2 separate regions of the Homo sapiens genome follow, and region 1 is linked to region 2. Evidence: promoter capture Hi-C in human tissues and cell types (Jung and others, 2019). All regions are on one chromosome and are shown on one strand. Each heading gives the region's core, a stretch centred on a gene start or on the middle of the fragment in contact. The rest is flanking DNA. Distances are from core to core; before and after follow the strand shown. Region 1 has its middle 40 kb from the start of SELENOK. Region 2 holds the start of CACNA2D3 (calcium voltage-gated channel auxiliary subunit alpha2delta 3).

Evidence for each region. Contacts are between HindIII fragments. The study calls those that stand out against the background at their distance.
Region 1: a contact is called between a fragment that was not itself captured here and the fragment with the promoter of CACNA2D3 in region 2, in 1 of the 25 tissues and cell types used here (dorsolateral prefrontal cortex).

The regions. Positions count from the first base shown.
Region 1 is chr3:53,930,212-53,933,084 of GRCh38, forward strand. No RefSeq gene overlaps it. Among named protein-coding and RNA genes, the nearest start is that of SELENOK, 40 kb to the left of the region's middle. The HindIII fragment of the contact is 6,438 bases long and covers 1-2,873 here.
Region 2 is chr3:54,120,890-54,123,965 of GRCh38, forward strand. CACNA2D3 (calcium voltage-gated channel auxiliary subunit alpha2delta 3) reads left to right here and starts at 1,663. Exons shown (of 38, transcript NM_018398.3): 1 at 1,663-1,946; 2 at 2,624-2,705. The coding sequence starts at 1,825. It overlaps LOC124909381 (a long non-coding RNA gene), which reads right to left and starts at 2,553. Exons shown (of 2, transcript XR_007095914.1): 1 at 2,168-2,553. RefSeq lists a silencer at 420-469. The HindIII fragment of the contact is 8,759 bases long and covers 1-3,076 here.

The sequences.
Region 1 (2,873 bases), core at 339-2,838, 190 kb before region 2:
CTAATATAGATACATAGGTATCCATGGACTTACTATCTGAGATCAGAAACAACATGTGATTATTAAGTAAGGAAAGTAATTTATCACTTGCCCTTGGCTTTTGTATTTGCACTTGGCTCTGCTTTTGATATCTATATTTGAGATGTCCCTTCATATAAAAAAAAATTAGGTACATTTGGTTGGGCGCGGTGGCTCACACCTGTAATCCCAGCACTTTGGGAGGCCAAGGTGGGCAGATCACGAGATCAGGAGGTTAAGACTATCCTGGCTAACACGGTGAAACCCCATCTCAACTAAAAATACAAAAAATTAGCCAGGTGTGGTAGCATGCACCTGTGGTCCCAGCTACTCAGCAGGTTGAGGCAGGAGAATCACTTGAATCCAGGAAGTGGAGGCTGCAGTGGGTGGAGACCGCACCACTGCACTCCAGCCTGGGCGACAGAGCGAGACTCTGTCTCAAAATAATCAATCAATCAATCAATCAGTTACGTACATTTCCTTTCGTTCTAGAACAGAAGAACAATGGATATTCTTACTGATAAGCTAGATATGGGACTTTGAGGACATAGACGAGTAGAGAATTTTCAGGAGGTTTTGGTTTGTGTTTTGTGATCTAACCTATCCTTTTCAAAAGACCTTCAATAAAGATTCATATGTTTTCCTCAACACTTTATTATGTAATTTTTCAAGCATAAGAGACATTGAAATGATTTTATAGCCAGTCCCATTTATCTACCCTCTAGTTTCTACTGTTAACATTTTATTATACTTGATTTATATCTCCATCAATACATCTCTACACTCATCCATCAATATTTAATTTTTAAAATTCATTTTAACTTTCCAACTTTATTCTTTTTCAAGATTTCTATGGATAATCTAGGTCCTTTCCATTTCTAAATAAATTTTAGAATCAGCTTGTTAGTTTCTACCCAAAAAGCTTGCTGAAATTTCTATTGAAATGGCTTTAAATCTGTAGATCGATTTGGGGAGAATTAACATGCTAGTAAGATAGAGACATCCAGTATTACTGGATGAATGCATCTTTGTTTGTTAAGATTGTCTTTAAATTCTCTCAGAATGTTTTATAGTTTTCAGCATAGAGATCTTACATGTTTTTTGTTAATTTTACCCCTAAGTATCTTGGTTTTTAGAAAAGTATTGCAAATGAAATTGTTTTTAATTTTTTTTCAAATTTTTTTCCAGACCTGTCAGCAAGAAGGTGTTTTTTGTTTGTTTGTTTGTTTGTTTTGTTTGTTTGTTTGTTGCGACAAGGTCTCAATCTGTCGCCCAGGCTGGCTGAAGTACAGTGGTGTGATCATGGCTCTCTGAAACCTCAACTTCCTGGGCTCAAACAATCCTCCTGCCTCAGCCTCCCAACTAGCTGGGATTACAGGCACATGCCACCATACCTGGCTAATTAAAAAAAAAAAATTGTTTGTAGAGATGGGGTCTCACTTTGTTGCCCAGGCTGATCTTGAACTCCTGGGTTCAAGAAATCCTCCCACCTTTGCCTCCCAAAATGTTGGGATCACAGGTGCAAGCCACCGTGCCCTGCCCTGTTTGTTTATGTATCTCTCTATATATACAATTAATTTTTGTATACTAACCTTGCATACTATAACTTTGCTAAATTCACTTAGTGCTAGCAGTCATTCTGTAGATTTCATAGGATTTCCTATGTAAACAAGCATGTCATCTCTAAATAGAGACAGTTGTAGCTTTTGCCTTTCTATTTCTTTTTCTTTGCCTCATTGCACTGACTAAGGCCTCCAGTACATTGGTGAAAAGATGTAATGAGAGGGGGCAAGTATGTATATATTAAATCGGAGTTATCAGAAAACAAGTTGGAAAGTTATTCCTCTCTGTCTAGTTTTTTTAAAAGGTTGTGTAACATTTATATTATTTCTTACTTAAACATTTCATACACCTCACAAGCGAAACCATCTGAGCCTTGAATTTTCTTTATGGGAAAGTTTTTGGAAATAAACTCAACTTCTTTAGGAAACATAAAGCTATTTAATAATTTCTGTTATATTTTTTGACCATTTTGAAAAGTTGCATTTTTAAGGGAATTTTATTTCATCTAAGTTGTCAAATTAGCATAAATTTGTTCATAACTTTTTCTTATCATATTTTAACGTCTTCTTAATATTAGTGCTTGGCATTTTTTATTTTCTTTTGATTAGTCTGGCTATAGGTTTATCCATTTTGTTGATCTTCTCAAAGAACCATATTCCTCCTTTGTTAGTTTTCTCCACTGTTTATCTGTTTTCTGTTTCAACAATATTTGCCTTTCTCTCTGTTATTTTCTATTTACTCTTCTTTCCTAGTTTCTTAAGTTGGAAACTTTGAGTTTTAGATTTTTATTACTCTCTAATATAAGCATTTAAAGCTATGTTTCCCTCTAGCATTGAATTAATTCCATTGGAATTAAATAGTAAATTCTGAGGCTGGGCACGGTGGCTTACGCCTGTAATCCCAGCACTTTGGGAGGCCGAGGCAGGCAGATCGCAAGGTCAGGAGTTTGAGACCAGCCTGGCCAACACAGTGAAACCCCATCTCTACTAAAAATACAAAAATTAGCTGGGTGTGGTGATGCGCGTCTGTAGTCCCAGCTACTCAGGAGGCTGAGGTGGGAGAACCGCTTGAACCCGGGAGGCAGAGGTTGTAGTGAGCTGAGACCATGCCATTGCACTCCAGCCTGGGTGACAGAGTGAGACTCTGTCTAAAAAAAAAAAAAATTCTGTACGATTTAAATAATTTTAAATGTGTTGAGACTTCTTTATGGCCCTATATATGTTCTATCTTGATGAAGGTATCAGGTGCATTTATAAAGAATATGTACTCTGTAGTTGTTGGGTTTAGTGTCT
Region 2 (3,076 bases), core at 413-2,912:
AGGTGGGAGCGCGACCTGCCAGAGCCCAGGGGAGCTCGGGTCTGCCCGCACTCGGGAAAAGCACTAAGAGCCTCTCGGTAGCAGTCCTTCTCCCTCGCTGCCAACTCTGAGATCAAGCCCAACATCTGCAGGGGTAACTTTTTCCAGGGACTACTGGAAAGGAGAGCCGGCCTGGCTCCTAGCCGGACACCACCTGGCGGAAGCTGGAGCCCGCCCTTACTTCCCTGCAACCTGAGGATGCTGAGGCCAAGGGCGGGTGACGGGGCAGAAAGCAAAGCCCTGGTTGCAGAAAGGCATGCAAATATGAACCCAGGTGTCTGGTGCGCCGGGAGCCCCGGCGACGTTAGGAGCGCACTCCTTGCTGGGGTCACCGGAGTTGCGCTTGGCCGGGCAAGGATGACTCAGCCTCACTCCGGTCGGTCTTTACCGCCAGCCTGCGCGAGGGCTCCACAAAGTTCCCAATCACACCCCATACCTCGCACGGGGGAGAGGGGTTCTGCAAGCTGGGTCCCGGGGTGGGGGCAGCGGCGAGAGAGGCGGGGAGAAGCCTGGTTCCCAGAACGCGCAGGGGCTTCTCCGGCTTCCTTTCTCCTCGCCCCTGAGGGCGGCGAGAAGGCGCCTCCTCCGGCGCTCACTGCCTCCTGCCCAGTGCGGTGGGCGCCGGAGTGGGGAGCAGGCAATCCCCCAGGCTCGGAGAAATCTTTTATCCCGAAATCCAGGGTGTCCCCCGGTCAGGATCGACTCGGCGCCGCGTTGGCTTCCTCGCTCAACCCTGACATCCCGGTCCCCACCAGTCACCGCAGCCGGGCGGACTCCGAAGGCAGCGGCCGCTGGGGAGCCCCGGGGCCTGGGTCGGGCGCGCAGGGGGCCGCTGCGCTGCGGCCGGATGCCGGGAGCCCCGCGCTGGTGCGCCCAAGCCGTGGTGGCAGCACCGCCCTCCGTGCTTTCCCCTGTCGGGCGCCGCGGCCGGAGGAGCAGCTGCGGGCGGTCACGCAGCGCTGCCCTAGCCAGAGCCCCGAGCTCCCACCCAGTCCCATCCCCAGCCCGATCCGCCCCGCGTGCGATCCCGCCTGCCGCCGCGAGCCTGTGCTCCTTTCTGAGATTTCTGCTTCTTCCCCAGCTCCCTCCCCGCAGGAGAATCGCGCGGCGGGGGCGGAGGGCGCGCCCCCTTTAGGTTCCGCGGCCCCCGACCCCGCCCGGCCCAGGGGCGGAGCGGGCATGCTACGCCCTCTCCTAGCAGCCGCCCGCAAAGTGCGGAGCGCCGCGCCCTGCCCTCGGCTTCCCTCCCGCGCCCCCAACCCCCACCCTGGCTAGGGTCGCCCGGCCCGGGGCCAGCCCCAGAGTCGCGCCCGCGGTGGCGGACTGCGGAGTTGTAAAGAACTCAGCGGCCGCAGTAGCCCGGGTGGGGCAGGGCGCGCTCCGCCGCGGCCAAGGACACTGGAGTTTCCGAGTCCCCGCCCGCGCGGCGCCTCCTGCCCCGCCGCCCTCCCGCCGCGGCCCGCCGGACTCCCCGGGGCCGCCGAGGCGGGGCCGGGCGGCTGCTGCTGCTAGAGGCGCGTCTCGCTGCCTCCTCCCCCGCCCGCCTCCCTCCCCACCTCTCCTCCCTCCCTCCCCACCTCTCCTCCCTCCCTCTCCTCTCCGCCCTCCCCGCCCCCCCCACCCGCTCCTTTTTCTGCTCCCCAAGTGAGCCGGGCGCGCGAGAGGCAGGCGGGGCGGCGCGGAGCGGAGCAGGCAGCCCCGCGCGCTCGCCCACCGCCCGCTCCGCGCAGCTCCCCGCGGCCGCTCTCGTCGCCGCCGCAGCGGGCGCGTCGGAGGGAGCCCAGCATGGCCGGGCCGGGCTCGCCGCGCCGCGCGTCCCGGGGGGCCTCGGCGCTTCTCGCTGCCGCGCTTCTCTACGCCGCGCTGGGGGACGTGGTGCGCTCGGAGCAGCAGATACCGCTCTCCGTGTAAGTGCCGGCTCCTGCGCCGCCCGGGGAGGGGACCTTGCCGCCTGCGACCCACTGTGCCCAAGTTTGGGCGCCTGCAGGTGCGGCTGGGCAGGACCCGCCGCGGGCGTCGGCCTCGCCGCTCGCACCTGCCTTTCGGGACCCGCGTCGGGCGGCGAGGCCGGGGTGGGATGCTCTGGCCCCTGCCCGCAGGTTGCCGAGTGAGATCTGGAGAGGCTCACCTCAAGTGACGGCACCAACTTTGGAGCCTGGTTACCGAATCCAACTTCCATGGGCCGCTGAATTTCCCCCCTCTTTGCTCTACTGCCGCCCCACTTCTTTTTTTGGGGGGGGGATGGGTGGATTTCTTCTGACTGCTATTTGCCAGGTGATGCCCAGTTTGGGGGGTCGAGTCCTCGGGCAGTGGTTCGAATGAAACTCAGTGGTCTTTTTAGAGAGCCTGGGAGACTTTGCGCATTCTTAACTCCGCGACCCCCCTCGGGCCCCCTCCCGCGCTGCGCTTTGCAGTTTTGGTGCTGGCAGTTTCTACCAAGCCGCTTTTTCTATCTTTTCTTCTTTTAAAACATGTTACATCGCACTGCTCCTTCAGCCATAGTCCCATGTGTGCGTGTGCGTGTGCGTGCGTGTTGACTGTGACACGGGTGTTACATATCTTCCTGTGCCCCTTCTCCCTGTAGGGTGAAGCTCTGGGCCTCGGCTTTTGGTGGGGAGATAAAATCCATTGCTGCTAAGTACTCCGGTTCCCAGCTTCTGCAAAAGGTAAGGTTTCTGTGGTGGCAGGAAGCGATGATTTTTCCGGCACAGAAAATGGAGGCAGATTTAGTTTTCCAAACAAACGTGAGCCCCGAGCAGCATCAGTTATCGGAGGACTCTCTGATCCCCGGGTTTCTTGGCATTGTACTATGCAGTGACTTCTTCCTACCAACCGGTTATTTTTAGATGACACTTGATTCTAACCACAAAGAAAAGCAGGATACTCACTCGCACTGTCCTGGCTGGGGCTCGGAAACTGAGTGTTTTTGCATGGCTCTCGTCTCCGTGTCGGTATTGCTGTTTCAGTGCCAGAGCAGATGCTCCTCGGGCCAAAAAATGCTAACTTCATCCAAGGGGCAGACTCAGTGCCTATTTTG